Linked DNA regions of Homo sapiens: region 1 is linked to region 2. The links are contacts of gene promoters, found by promoter capture Hi-C in human tissues and cell types (Jung and others, 2019). All regions are on one chromosome and are shown on one strand. Each heading gives the region's core, a stretch centred on a gene start or on the middle of the fragment in contact. The rest is flanking DNA. Distances are from core to core; before and after follow the strand shown. Region 1 overlaps LOC105377164 (a long non-coding RNA gene). Region 2 holds the start of PDZRN3 (PDZ domain containing ring finger 3).

Region 1 (7,455 bases), core at 1,293-3,792, 62 kb before region 2:
GACAGAGGCTGGAGTTCAGTGGCCTGATCTCAGCTCACTACAACTTCCACCTCACCGACTCAACCAATTCCCCTGCTTCAGCCTCCCAAGTAGCTGGAATTACAGGTGTGTGCCACCATGCCCAGCTAATTTTTCTATTTTTAGTAGAGACAGGGTTTCACCATGTTCTGGTCTCAAACACCTGATTTCAAGTAATCTGCCCACCTCAGCCTCCCAAAGTGCTGGGATTACAGGTGAGAGCCACCCAGTCTGGCCAGGAGTAGGGGCATTTCAATGGACAAAAGTTAGTTTTGTCAACAAATAGTCCTGTAACATCTGAACATCTACATTGAAAAAAAAAAATGAATCTAGAGGGAGATGTTATGCCTTTCATAAAAAACTGGATTTTAGACTAAATGTAAAATGCAAAAATATATAGTTTCTAGATAAAAATGTAGGGAAAAATCTAGTAACCATGATTTGGCAATGAGTTTTTGAGCCTAACACCAAAAGCATAATCCATGAATGAAATTTGATGTTAGATTTTATAAAAATTAAACATTTCTGCTCTGTGAGGAACATTATTAAGAAAAATTAAAAGACAAGTAAGAGACTGGGAGAAAATATTTGCAAAACACATTTAAAAGGACTTGTATTTAAAATAAAAGGACTTGTATCTGAAATATATAAAAAACTTTAAAACTCAACAGTAAGGAACCAAGAAACCCATTTTAGAAAGCTCAAAGAGTCTGAACAGACATCACACAAAAGAAGGTGTAAGGGCAAATAGGACACACATGGCAAATGAGCATAGAAAACGATGTTCAATGTCGCATGCTGGATAGGATCCTGGATCAGAAAAAGAACACTGGAGGAAAAAAAAAAAAACTAAGGAAATCTGAATAAAGTATGTAAAGTATAAACTTTAGTAAAATAATAATGCATTAATATTGGTTCATTAATTGAATCAAATGTACCAATACTAACATAAGATTTTAATAATGGGGAAACCAAGTGTGAGGTATATGGAATTTATCTGTGCTAGCTTCAAAAATTTTTTATAAATCTAAAACTGCTTTAAAAATAAAGTTTTGTTTTTGTTTTTGTTTTAAAAAAAAAAAACACCTTTCTTTACCAAGAAAATTGAGGGTAATAAAGTAGAGCACAACATCGTGTTGGTGGGGGGTGGAGGAGTAAGCATGGGACTGGAGACTCAAGACCCCGCTCTATTTGAGCCCTTTTATTAATATAGCTGCATAGCTGCATGACTCAGCTTCTTGGAATTTCAGTCTTCTTCATTTATTATAATAATGGTAGTTAAAATTTTAACAAAAGTCATGAGATCAGGAACCCCAACTATCTTGTTTATCACTATAACCCCGGTGCCCAGAAGAGGTTAGACACATCATAAATATTCAATAATTATTTGTTAAGTAAGGGGATGAATGAGGGAAGGAAGGCAGGAAGTGCTCTCCCACCCATTACTCCAAGTCATGCACTCAATACTACATGAGGTGGGAACTACTGTTCTTCCCCATTTGGCAGCTGGTGCACTCCGGCTGAAAGAAGTTACATTTCTTGCCCACACACAACCAAAAAGCAACACAAACAAGACTCAAAGCAAACGGTCTGACCCCAGACCCCACACACCTAACCTATGCCCCCTGCGCCCTTAACTTCTAGTGTAAGAACAATATGGAAGGAATTTGCCCTTTCAAATATCCCATGCTGCACTGCTTCTGCACCATGATGGAGCCTCATTAGATTGTCTCTAGGGTCCCTTCCATGGTGCCAGTTATAGGACTCAAAAGAACAGAATCTTCTCCCCAAAGACTCTCCCTAGCCTCGCTCTGTTCCTATTTGCCCCCTACCCCATTTATCTCCATTCAAACTTTGCTTGGATTAAATCACCTCATCCATAATTTGCCTTTCTCTGGATGCTGCAGGGGAGACAGAGACAAAGATAAATGCATGACCTCCACATTCATTTGTATGATAGCAGTATCTTGTTCTGACATCCAGAGGTCTGGGCGTACTCCACAGGTTCAAGTGAAAAGAATAAGGTCTGGGCTGGGGGTAGTTGGACAGGAGGCAGAACAGAGACTTTTCCCTTTAAACGCCAGGATGATAAAAAGCAGCTCAACTCAGATAACATCAGAAAACTGCAGCCCAAGTAAGATCCCTGTGTTGGAGTTCCTGGTTTTTGTTGTTGTTGTTTTACCCCTAAGTTCAGACCTAATTGTAAGATAATGACTCTAGAGTAAGATAAAACTCAGGGAAAATGTCAGATTGTGGAGGAGAAAGCTTTTATTCAAATTAAACATCTTTGATGCTAAGAAAAAATATATATAGGGCAGATGTCAACTGCTATTTTATAGCAATCATCTAATTGCTAAATTCCTCCTTAAGCATAGTGCATTTCTTTTTTTTTTTTTTTTTTTTCTTTTTTTGGAAGAAGAAAGAGCAAAGACGAGTTCTTTTCAGCAAGGATTCCAAGCCAGTCATCTCCTGTGTTTTGAAACAAGCTGACATTTTAGTAGAAAATTAGGCTTTCAATATACTGCTCAAGATAAAAGCTTGCATCCTGCACTATGTAGTCCATGAATGCTGTTTGGATTTTTTTTTTTTTAATGCTTTTACAGTTTTTAGAGGATTTGTAAGCACCACACATTTTTTTTCCCTGAGTAATAAAACTGGGGGAGATGTTTGCAAGTCGTAATGTTCCATAAATGGTTCCAAATTTACAGTTGCACTATAAACTATATTAAGTGATCCAAAAGCTAGTTTGTTTCTTTCACCGGTGCTTTCAGAGTCTATAAATTAGACAGTTTAAGCCATGTAAACACCAAGCGAACAGTCACGGAATCACTCTGGGACAAGATGCACACGTTGACTTTTCAGAACATTTTGTGTCCCTCCACTTCCAGGCATTTTCAAATAAATCATTGGTGGAATGGAGTCAACGTCCCCACCTCAAAAGGAACCCAACAGGCAACTGGATTCTGATGTCAGATTCCAACCAACTAACAAAGATGAGAAAGGTGACCCATACGGTGGAGAAGGCTTATCATGTGACAACTGCTTTGTCCTCAAGAGACAACTCTGCCTTTCCATCAGAACCCTTCTTTACACAAGACCCAAGGTTGGCCTTGCAGAAATTGCTAGAGAATAATAATAATAAATATGATTACTGTTATTATTTTGTATTGAAATTGTATAAGGTCCAGGTACTATGTTAAACCCAATACATGAATTATTCATGCTAGCCTCACAACCTTATGAAGATTATTAGATGGGGCAAGTGAGGCTCAGGTTAACTAATGCAACTACCTGGTTCAAAGTAAAACAGCCAAGTCTTTGGGCACCCAAAGCTAAGCCATTGACTTTGGGTTTATAAATGGTTATGTCTCGACAAACATAATTATTTTGAGCCTAAGCAGATAATAAAATGCCTTGAGTCAGGCTTGTGTGCACTGTATCATGCACTATGAATTCAGTTTAGCCAAAAGAAGAGCAGTAATCATAAGGATGAGAAGGAAGAGGTAGCTTCATTACCTTTATTGAGTGATTACTACATGCCAGGTACTGTGCTAGGCACAGTTCATGAAGGTTTTTGTTTTCTCTTATCATAGCCCTCAGAAGTAGACTCCATTAGCTCCTCCATTTTGCAGATGAGAAGCCTGAGGCTTAGACAGGTAAAGTAGATTTCCTAAGTCACATGACTAAGAGTCTGAACTGTGGCTTGAAACCGTATTGAGCTATGAGACGCATTCCCTTTCTACTGCACCAAGCTGTCAATACCATCTTTGCAAAAATGACAGGATTAGAGGCTTAAACATTTATCAGATATATGCTGAAACCCAAGTCCTCTTCCAACTTTTTAATCTGCTGTGCATGATAAAACAGGACCAGAAAGCCCTAGAGGTCAGGCCATACCCTTTGCCATACTGACCTCTCCTCCCCAAGTCACAAAGAGAACTTTCTAAGTCCGAGTCATGGTCACATTTACCCTTTCTGCTGAGAGCCCATTGCCCTGTTTTGTTTATTTGTTTGTTTTTAAAATATCATTGAAAAACACAAATCTCACCTTTCAAATCATGTGTAAATCAAGTCCCCATTTTCCTTTCTTTCTTATCCTGCTACAGTGGACATTTGTTGTTTTTGCCTCTCCATCATCCCTTCCCCTTATTTCTGGTAACAGAAACTTAATTTGCATTTGCAGAATAACCCTCGCCCGCTTCTCAATCCATGTCTCAAAAAATAGAGACATATTCATGACAACTTTATTTTAGCACTTGGATCCATTCTTGTTTGAAATTAATTGCTTAACTTTTCTGCTACATGATCCAGTAAATTCCCCTTTTTGCTTAAGCCAGTTTTGTATGGGTTTTGCCCTTTATAAGCAACAGAGTCCTGAGCCTTCCCAAGCCACAGCTTTAAGCCTAAGTCACAATTACAACTGAAAGATTGAAATTGTTCTTCATGTCTACCTCCACCCTTTCCTGCAGTGTCCTCCGCAGTACTTCCAAGCACTTAGCACTAGAGTGCACATTTCTCATAAAAGGGGAACACATTCATTGGGTTCAGCAGACTTCCTGAAACACCTTAGATACAGACAGCACACTCTCCAATTAGCAACGTAAAGACCACACCATCATCATTGCTTTCTGCTTCCTGGTGTTGGTAACTAGATCCCTTGCAGCTGTCTGCACCCCTGAATCCTCCTATTGTTTTGGGGATTAAGGGCTGGAGTATGAAGTGTGTTCAGAGGTTGACAGCCATGATTATTATGAGTGCTCAAATGTTGGAAGGGCTCCCAAGGAAGGGCGTGGAAAAGTACGCCTATGTGTACCTTTATTATGCAAAACAAAAACTAACAGATAAAAGCCATGAAAAGCAGCTTGACTTTTCTGATAAATACAGCTTTGGGCAATTATATTTTTAATAAACTCCTCCAGATGATTTTGCAGGACACCTGAAGTCGGGAGTTCGAGACCAGCCTGACCAGCATGGAGAAACCCCATCTCTAACTAAAAATACAAAATTAGCCAGGCGTGGTGGCGGGCGCCTGTAATCCCAGCTACTCCAGCGGCTGAGACAAGAGAATAGCTTGAACTCGGGAGGTGGAGATTGCAGTGAGCCGAGATTGCGCCATTGCACTCCAGCCTGGGCAACAAGAGTGAAACTCCGTCTCAAAAAAGAAAAAAAAAAGAAAATCACAGCAAAGTTTAATATTCAATGATTGACTATATGAGGAAGGGACTCATGTGAAACTTAATGCTTGAGTTGATCAATATTAAGGTATATTATGAAATCTGGAATACCACCTCTATGCTAATGACTCCCAAGTTCAATACACCGAGGTCGAAAGACTCCTTTAAACTTCAAACTTCTATATCCAGGTGCCTGCTTAATAGGCATCTCAAATAGAATTTTTGATGTTATTATCTGCACTCAGTTGCTGCCAGTCTCCCCCACCTTAGTAAAGAATACCATTATTGACCTATTTGTTCAGGCCAAAAATCTTGGAAGTCGTGCATCTTTGGCTCTTCCCTTTCCCTGACATTCACATCCAACCCAACAGCACATTCTTCCACAGTTGATCCCTTCAAAGTTGATCCCAAATCAGACCATCCCTCATATCCTTCATTACTGCTAATCTCATCCAAAGCACCATCATTTCTTACTGACAGCTGCCTTAGCCTCTTAAGTATCCTCAGGCTTCCTCTCTTGTCTCTTGGAAAAAAATCCTCCACCCAGGAGGCAAAGTGATCTTTTAGAAATGCAAATCAGATTATTTCTTTCCTCTAACCCTTGATTTGCTTTCCATCACACACCCAGTGTGATGGTTAATATTAGGTGTCAAGTTGATTGGATCGAAGGATGGCTGGTAAAGTATTGTTTCTGGGTGTGTCTGTGAGGATGTTGCCAGAGGAGATTAACATTTGAGTCAGTGGATTGGGAGAGGAAGACCCACCCTCAGTGGTGGTGGGCACCGTCCAATCAGCTGCCAGCACAGCAAGAACAAAGCAGGCGGAAGAAGGTGGGATAAGCTGGCTTGCTGAGTCATCTGGCTTTCATCTTTCTCGTGTGCTGAACGCTTCTTGTCCTTGGACATCAGACTGTAGGTTCTTCAGCCTTTGGACTCTTGGACTTATACCAGTGGTTTTCCAGGGGTCCTCAGGCCTTCAGACACAGACTGAAAGCTGTACTGTTGGCTTGCCTACATTTGGACACAGACTGAAAGCTGTACTGTTGGCTTGCCTACATTTGGACTCAAACTGAGCCACTGCTGGCTTCTTCCTTCTTCAGCTTCCACACAGCCTATCGTGGGACTTTGCCTTGTGATCAGGAGAGTTCATTCTCCTTAATAAACTCCCTTTTATATATACGTATATCCTATTAGTTCTTTCCCTCTGGAGAACCCTAATACAGCCAGAATGAAATCCAAAGTCCTTAAGTTGGTCTACACATAAACATATATGGCTTGCCTGCTTCTCTTCCTAACCTCATCACCTACCAGGACATACAGCCAACATCCATCCTCTGCACTAGACATGCAGAGTTCTTATTCTGCCTCTGGAACTTCATTCCTGCCTCAGAGACTTTGCACTTAGTTTTTCTTCTTTCTAGAAATCAACTTCCCGCTTACTCCTGTGGCTGACTACCTCTCTTTCTTCAGAGCTCTGCTCAGTTGTTACTCCATCAGAGAGGAGGTCCCTATCCACCCTATAACACAGCCCCCAGAATCGCCACCTGCTACATACAAATGCTCCACACCGACTCTTACCTTGATTTATTATTCTTCATGGCACATATTCTAGTATGTATTTTTAAGATCTATTTCTCTGTTTCCCTCACTAGAATGCAAGCTCTCTGAAGGCCCAACAATTATTTCATTCACCACTGTGTCTCCCTTGCCTTGCAGGGGCCTTCTCATATCAGGACGCAATAAACATTTGTTGAATTAACTAATTAACAACCAAGTGCCAGCTTCAGCCATAGCAGCCTCAGAGCTCCCATTTTTACCTTCTCCCCATACCTTTGGGAAAACATCACTCACCTGCAGTTTCCCCATAGATAGGGGCATTCATCTTAAAGAGAGAAATAATTAGCACTCAGATATGCTAAGCATCACTCTGGGGCAGGTATTACACCTAGCCCTTTGCCTGCAAGGTCTCATGAATTTCAAGAACAACACTATAAGAAAGTTAATGATAATTGTCCCCATTTTGGTGACAAGGAAACTAGGATATGAAGAGAGGTGCCTTGTTCAAGGCCTAGGATGCAGACAACTCAGAATTGAACCCAAGCCTTCTGACCTCACAGTTGCACCGTTCCTCTTCCTCATCTCCTCTTTATCCTCAACATGCTGAGCAAGTTTCCCAGAATCGTAACAAGCAATAAACAACAACAACAAACAGGCTATTCCCTTTTTTTTTTTTTTAAGCTTTTGATATGTTTCACTGGGTTTTT
Region 2 (7,464 bases), core at 4,017-6,516:
CTCAGCCTGCTAACAATGGCTCATATTTTTTCACTTGAGAGAGAGATTAATTTCTAACTAGTTTATTCCATGGTTATTTGGATGTTCTGTTATGCTCAGCTAAACAATTTTTTTGTTCCACATGCATGTATGTATGCACGTACATGTATGTTTATAAATACATAGGTATGTATGTGAACATTTATATGTATATATACACATGCATAGTCTATACAAAGCCTACCAATTCGCAACCAGATAGTGATCTACTTATTCATGTGGGAGTTGGCTGTTCATAATTCTGAATTGATTTTGTTATGGGAACAATGTTCTAAATGTTGATAGGTACTCCAACTAGGACACAGAGGCCTATTTAACTCATACTGTGATACATATACCTCATGCTGGTAGTACCAACCCACGCTTAAGAGCTGAGCAGCAGGAACTTACATGGAGCAGGAAGAGGGAACAGTTATTTGTTCAATATTTATTACGTTTCTACTAAGTGTTAAACATGGGGGACAGAACGTGAACACGATTGCCCTACTCTATAATAGAGTGTAATATGTGGCATGGACACTAGACATTGATCAAGCTGTGCTCCTCTGCTGCCCAAAATACTTCAGTGCCAATCAGCACTAGAATCAATTCAATCTCTTTCCTCCACAGGTCCTGCAGGCCCGTGTCCATTTGGTTCTCGCCTACTTTTTACCCTTGTTTGATTCTTCTTCGCTCGGCTTACTCTGCTCCAAGTTCTAGGCACACTCTGTCTAATTCAAATAGACCATGTGCTTGCTTCGAACCTCAGCACTTTCTCTTGTTCTGCCTGGATTGTTCTTCTCCCAGCTATTGCTGGCTCAGTCTCACCCTTCAAGCGACAACTCACACTTCCCCTCCCCAGACAGCCCTATTTCAAATGGGCCCCTTTGATTTTTCTCCAGCATGTAAGCTGCTTTTATGGTGTTGACAGCAGTGATTCTCAAACTTTAAGTGCACACAAATCACTTGGTGATCTTGCTAAAAGGCAGATTCTGATTCAGTAGGTCCAAGGTGCGGCCTGAGATTCTGCACTTTCAACATGCTTCCAGGTTATGCCCATGTTTCTGGTCCCCAGACCACACTTTGAGCAGCACTGTATTAGGGAACTTATCATATTCCATAATCATCTCATTTATTATTCATTTATTGATATCTGCTGTTCCTTATCGTGAAATGAAGGCTTAAGAGGGGAGGGACACTGCTTATTATTTTTGGTAGCCTTTGTAGCCCCAGTGCAAGAACAGCCTCTTCTTTGCATATAATAGCTACTAAATAATTATTAGATAAATTAAGACATTTCAAGTGTGATCATTGTTATACAAGGGTATGTGCTTGGGGCTGTGGAAACTAATCCCATCTGGAGAGTTGGGAAAGGAGAGCCAGACTTTTGCAGACCAGAATTTGCTCAAATTTGTAAGAAGTATTTTCGCAATTCTTGTTCTTCTGCCTAGTGTCCCTACTGTGATAACTCATCCTGACTTACCAAAGTCTTCAAAAGTCTCCAGAATAGAGAACTACCTTCTCTTCTCCCTACCTTTCAACCCATGGCCAAACGAATGTGTCAGGCTCCAGGATGGCTAACATTGGCTATGTTAACAGGCAAGCAGTCTGACCGAAATGTTTCACACTTGTTTTTGTGGATGACTGCTGTACCTTATTACGCTCTGGTGGTACTTTCATTTGGTAAAAGCAGATCCTTATCTAATTGTATAGTGCTATTTTAGCTAGTAGAATACAAATATGTACGCCTGGGGAAGAAAATTTAAAAAACAAATGTAAAAACCCTTGACTTTCTTTTTGTTTGTTTTTTCTAGTACTGAAGCCACAAATTATCCAGACCCTACGAGCAGCTGAGGATTGATAACCAGCAAACATGGAGGGGTGGAGTTCTTATCCATATCATTTGTAAGGGAGTGCCTCCTGAGCTGGAGCTTATGGAGGAGACGCATAATGCTTATGGTGATTAAGAGTGAGGGTTCTGAAATTCTCCTGTTGACATCCCTGACTGGAGGCATACCTTATGTAACCTTATAAGGTACCTACGCCTACTTAGATATCTTATGTAACCTCTATAAACCTCAGTCTCTCCATCTGTAAAACAGGGTGGACAACATATCTACCTCTCTATGTGCAGTGAGGATTAATGAGACAATGAAGGTCAAGTGCTGAGCACAGTGCCTGATACCTAGTAACAGTTCCCAAAAAAGTGGTAGATATTATTATCAACTTCTGATTAAACATGCTGATGGAAAGAACACTAAAAACAGAGTTTAAAATCAGAATGGGATCGTGGTGAATATAGAAATAGTATTTTTATTAGGCTTGGGGCCACATTTTGGTTAGAAAGTGCAGAATCAGATGATAAAAGGAAGGGGTAAGAGCAAGAGGTAGTGGAAGTCGCAAAAATAATTTGCAAAGTGACCAATCCAGCTGTCCACAAGGAATTCATCCATATATAAACACTCAGATGTTTCTGGGACGGTTGAGTAAGTATCTAATCCATGTCAGAAAAATCAGCTACTTTTCTCAGGAGGCCTGCCACACCAAACATTCATCTTCCTACAGTTTTTATTCATGTTTATTGGTATGGTGCCTTGAGTTTTCGATTTATAATAACATCCCTCTCTCACTGTGCAGCATTCACCAGGTGGTTCCACAGCCAGCAGAAAATGTGGGCTGACAGCATTGCCTGACTTCAGTAATGAGCAGAAAGCTTCCTTAAAACTGTGGTTCTCAACCTGGTTGTCACAACAAGGGGTTGTTACTATGTCTATTGGATAGTGGCCAGAGATGCTCCTAAATATCCTGCAATGCAGACGATAACCAACCCCCCACCCCCACACACACCACAACAAATAATTATTTGAATGAAAATGTCAGTAGTACCAAGGTTGAGTAACTCTGCCCTCAACTCCTTTTTCCTAATATTTTTGGCTCTCGTTTCTCCTGTTAAGTTTGGTGACTGAAATAATAGTCTTGCCAGCTCTGACATTGTAGGATTTTTTTTCTAACCTCCAAGAATTTTGATACTAAAATTAACCATTGAGGAGTGGCACAGACTTTCCTTTTGCCTAAAGAGGCCAATCCACAGTAGGCTATGGCTTCTCTGTGGCCTCAGCTGTAGCATTTCAGCAACAACCTCTCAATCTGCCATCTGGGAGACCACCCGAGGGGTGGTAGAACATCTCCAAAAAAGTGTACACCCCAAGTAAGCACTAATTTACATTTATGGTGTAGGACAGAACTTCTCTGTTTCTCAAAACCAGTTTGGTTTGAAGATTATCACCCTGTTGACACTAGCTCATTCTGTGAAACTGACAAGCCCACACACCTTTGGTGAAAGAATTTGTTTCCTACCCATTATCTGAGAGCCCATGAGCAGTTTAATGAATATACTGATGGAGGATTCCCTGGCACAAGCTTATCTGAACAAAGGCCAATAATATTCCACCCCATGCAGAATCCTATCAAAGCAATGCATTAATTGATTAAAGCAATTAAAAGAAAGTCTCCACCTCAAATAGGCAACAAATGCCACCAAAACTGATTAAAGAACACTGTCCAGTGACCTCAACCATGCACTGAAAAATCTAGTGAGTGACAACTTTTTAAAGGTCAGTGTGAAACAAGTAATCCTTATGAACATCAAGGCAATTCTTTCACTCTGATGAAGCAGTTAAATAGTGAAGGTCATGGGGCTTTAGCAGCCACATAAAAGAAAGAAGGAAAGCAATTAGACAAAATGGATGCTGTAATCCCACTTTCCAGGCCCCAGAGTCTCGCTGAATACAGAGCTCCTGCTTTACTGTTCAGAACTCTCCCGCTTCACTGTTCAGAAACTGGAAGCAGATTCCAAATGAGAATTCCATAGCTTGATTCCACTCTCACCAAAAGCTGACTGCGTGTTTCTTAGGAATGTCTATAGCCTTGGGAGGTAAAAATAAAATAAAATAAAATCAATGGATGATGCTATGAACTTTACACCCAGTTTGGAATTCCAAAAATATTCCTCCATTGCTCAGGACTGTTGCTGAATCCTACCCAGCCAGGTTTGCTGTACTGCAGGGAATGAATGTCCAGATCTATGGATCGCCAGGGTTTTCCAATCAAGTGGGAATCCAAGGACCAGCATGGACTAGCAGCATTGGCATCACTTGGAAGTGCTTTCAGTATGGAGATTCTCAGAACCCGCCCCAGACCCACTGTATCAGAACCGCAACCACATTAAAATGTGAGAAACACTGACCTACAGGACCCTACAGGGCACTTTTGTTTTGTTTTGTTTTCTGTTTTGTTTTTATCCTTCTTCTAGCCTGAGTTTCCTCAATGGAAAGATGACAGAGTGTACACACAAAACAAACCAAAACTGAAGGAGGGCAGTTGTTGACATGATCATGGGGGTGATGAGTCTTCTCCCAGTTCTAACTTCTGCAGTCAGCATCGCTTCTTTTGTAATCACGGGAAAATAATTTTCAAATGGAGCTAACCCTCTCACAACATTGTACTAATGATCTTTAAAGCGACGGATTTAGAAGCGCTCAGCACCACGCTTGCCACACTGCAGGGCAGACACTTCAGAGGTGTTAGGTGAAGTGGATGGAGCCAGCACGCTGGCCTCTCCCACTCCGACAGCTGGCGAGCAGCTCTTGTCCACCAAAACTTCCCCGGGTAGATTCACCCACCGGTCCTGGAAACCTGCTAAATCCTGAAGGTTCACAGAACCTCTGGTCAGAACTGAAGTTGCAGCCGGAGCTTCCCGCAGGCTCTGTAACTTTCCCTGGAATGAAATAAATAAATAAAGACCGTAAGTGCTGAGATAGCGGGCCCCAAGATATTTTTAGTCCTCTGCAATCAGCCACTAGAGGAAGGGGGAGGGAGAAGGGAGTAAAAAAGTTTTGATCCGTTCGGGAAGGGGCTCGAAGAGAACCCTTGGGAGAAAGCAGTAGCCTCAGCTCCAAACTCAGCGAGCTTTTCTCGGCTGGCGTTTTGTCTCCTATAGCGTAGACTGTAAGAGAACAGAAAGGAGTTTCCCGAGAAGATTCAGGCTGGCGTCCTGGGCTGGCCCGTCCCTTCTGGCGAGCCTCAGTGTCCTCCCACGCGCTTCTGCCTTCCAGCCTCCTCCCTTTTTCGGGGGGCTGGCGGGAGGCATCCAAGGCACGATGTATGTGCGCTCGCGCTCGCGCAAATACGGCCGGAGGAGTCCTGTTCCTCGGGCATTTTCCGAGGAAGTCTGGATCAATTAGGCTCAGTCCGGGGAGAGCCAGCGAGCGCGCGGGCGGCGTAGCCGGCCTGTCTGGGCCGCCTCGTGGGGAGGGAGGGGGCGCCCGGCCGCCCGGCGGCGACCCCGGGGCCTGGCCGCCACCATGGGCTTCGAGCTGGACCGCTTCGACGGCGACGTGGACCCGGACCTGAAGTGCGCGCTGTGCCACAAGGTCCTGGAGGACCCGCTGACCACGCCGTGCGGCCACGTCTTCTGCGCCGGCTGCGTGCTGCCCTGGGTGGTGCAGGAGGGCAGCTGCCCGGCGCGCTGCCGCGGTCGCCTGTCGGCCAAAGAGCTCAACCACGTCCTGCCGCTCAAGCGCCTTATCCTCAAGCTGGACATCAAGTGCGCGTACGCGACGCGCGGCTGCGGCCGGGTGGTCAAGCTGCAGCAGCTGCCGGAGCACCTCGAGCGCTGCGACTTCGCGCCCGCGCGCTGTCGCCACGCGGGTTGCGGCCAGGTGCTGCTGCGGCGCGACGTGGAGGCGCACATGCGCGACGCCTGCGACGCGCGGCCAGTGGGCCGCTGCCAGGAGGGCTGCGGGCTACCCTTGACGCACGGCGAGCAGCGCGCGGGCGGCCACTGCTGCGCGCGAGCGCTGCGGGCGCACAACGGCGCGCTCCAGGCCCGCCTGGGCGCGCTGCACAAGGCGCTCAAGAAGGAGGCGCTGCGCGCTGGGAAGCGCGAGAAGTCGCTGGTGGCCCAGCTGGCCGCGGCGCAGCTTGAGCTGCAGATGACCGCGCTGCGCTACCAGAAGAAATTCACCGAATACAGCGCGCGCCTCGACTCGCTCAGCCGCTGCGTGGCCGCGCCGCCCGGCGGCAAGGTAGGCGCCTGCTGCCCGCCCCGACCTCCAGCCAGGATCCCTGGGGACCCAGGGCCCCGCCCCATCCCTTTGGGTACAGGGATGCCCCGAGCTTCCCGGGAACATCCTTGCTTCCTCCCTCTTCTTCCACTGCTTACCAGCTGTATCACTACTTGCAGGTCGCTGAACCTGCCTGAGGTGGAACACTGTGGTCCTTTATAGTCTAGACGTAACCGGTAAAGTATAGCTGTACAGCTTCAGGGATTCTGGAAGGACGAAAAAGAATTCACAAGCAAGTGTAGGATAAGAATGAAGAATGCAGCTCCAGAGTCAAAACTGCGTTCAAAGGCTTTGCTGCTCAGACCAGCTAGGGGATCTCGGGCAAGTTGCTTACCCTCTAGAGGTCAGAAACCTATAGACTGACACTTAGGAGAGGAGAGATGGACACATTGGGTGAATTGTATCCGTGCATCCTCTAGGATTCCAGAAAAAAAAATAAAGGGAACCCACAGCCAGTGTAGATTAAGTTAAGAAGGATATCAGAAGAGAGGCCTCTGGGGTAAAAGCTGGATGCAAGCGTGGGCTTTGCAGCCAACTAGCTGGCTGACCTTGAGCAAGCTGCTTAACCTCTCTAAAGTTGGAAACTATGGTCCCTAGAGACGTGGTATACAGAGTAAAAACACAGCCAGGCACCCCTGAGGTATTCATCCAGGGATTTCAGAAAGAATTAAAGGAGCACTCTGCCCCCAACAAGTATAAAGTAATAATTAAGTGTGAGTCCTCTGGAGTTAAAACTGTTTTCAAATCTGGGCTTTTTGCTGACCAGCTGGGTGAGCTTCTGGCTTAATTCCCAGATCCCTCAGTTTCCCTCAGTGCGAAAGGTTTTTGTCAGGCTTCAGGGAGAGAGTTTAGTAGAAGGGCCTCGTACTGTGCCTGGCAGAGAGTAAATAAATGCTCAACAAGTGTTACCTAGAATTATTTTTAACATCTCCACCTGAGCGGTCCCCTTGAGCGAGGGTTTACTTTGCTCCAGGCTGGGTGCTGCATTCTTCCCAGTCATTTCCTTTTTAATCAAGTGAGGTTGGTGTGACCCTTCCCACTTAGTAGATGAAAAAACTGAGGCTCATTAAGGGGCAGTTTCATGCCTGGGTCACAGCTTTTGGGTGCAAAGCTGCATGTTGAACCTTTGCGTGCCCATCTTTCCAGCCCACGTTCTATAAACTATCATGTTGCTCCTCAGTGCAACCACAAGGACCATTTATTGAGTGTTTATTAAGTGCCACCAACAATAGGAAGTACTTTACATGCATTACCTATGTTGTCCTTTGAGATGAGGGAACAGACTCAGAGAAGTTATATAACTTGTCCAAAATTAAGTAGT

Evidence for each region. The method cuts DNA at HindIII sites, captures the fragments that hold promoters and counts their contacts. A contact is called where the count stands out against the background at its distance.
Region 1: a fragment that was not itself captured here is called in contact with the fragment with the promoter of PDZRN3 in region 2 in 1 of the 25 tissues and cell types used here (IMR-90 fibroblasts).

The regions. Positions count from the first base shown.
Region 1 is chr3:73,682,458-73,689,912 of GRCh38, reverse strand. The region is part of intron 2 of LOC105377164 (a long non-coding RNA gene); the gene reads left to right. Among named protein-coding and RNA genes, the nearest start is that of PDZRN3, 61 kb to the right of the region's middle. The HindIII fragment of the contact is 4,900 bases long and covers 93-4,992 here.
Region 2 is chr3:73,622,743-73,630,206 of GRCh38, reverse strand. PDZRN3 (PDZ domain containing ring finger 3) reads left to right here and starts at 5,266. Exons shown (of 10, transcript NM_015009.3): 1 at 5,266-6,104. The coding sequence starts at 5,382. It overlaps PDZRN3-AS1 (PDZRN3 antisense RNA 1), which reads right to left and starts at 6,639. Exons shown (of 2, transcript NR_046681.1): 1 at 6,242-6,639; 2 at 2,308-4,795. RefSeq lists an enhancer at 7,333-7,464. The HindIII fragment of the contact is 5,146 bases long and covers 3,086-7,464 here.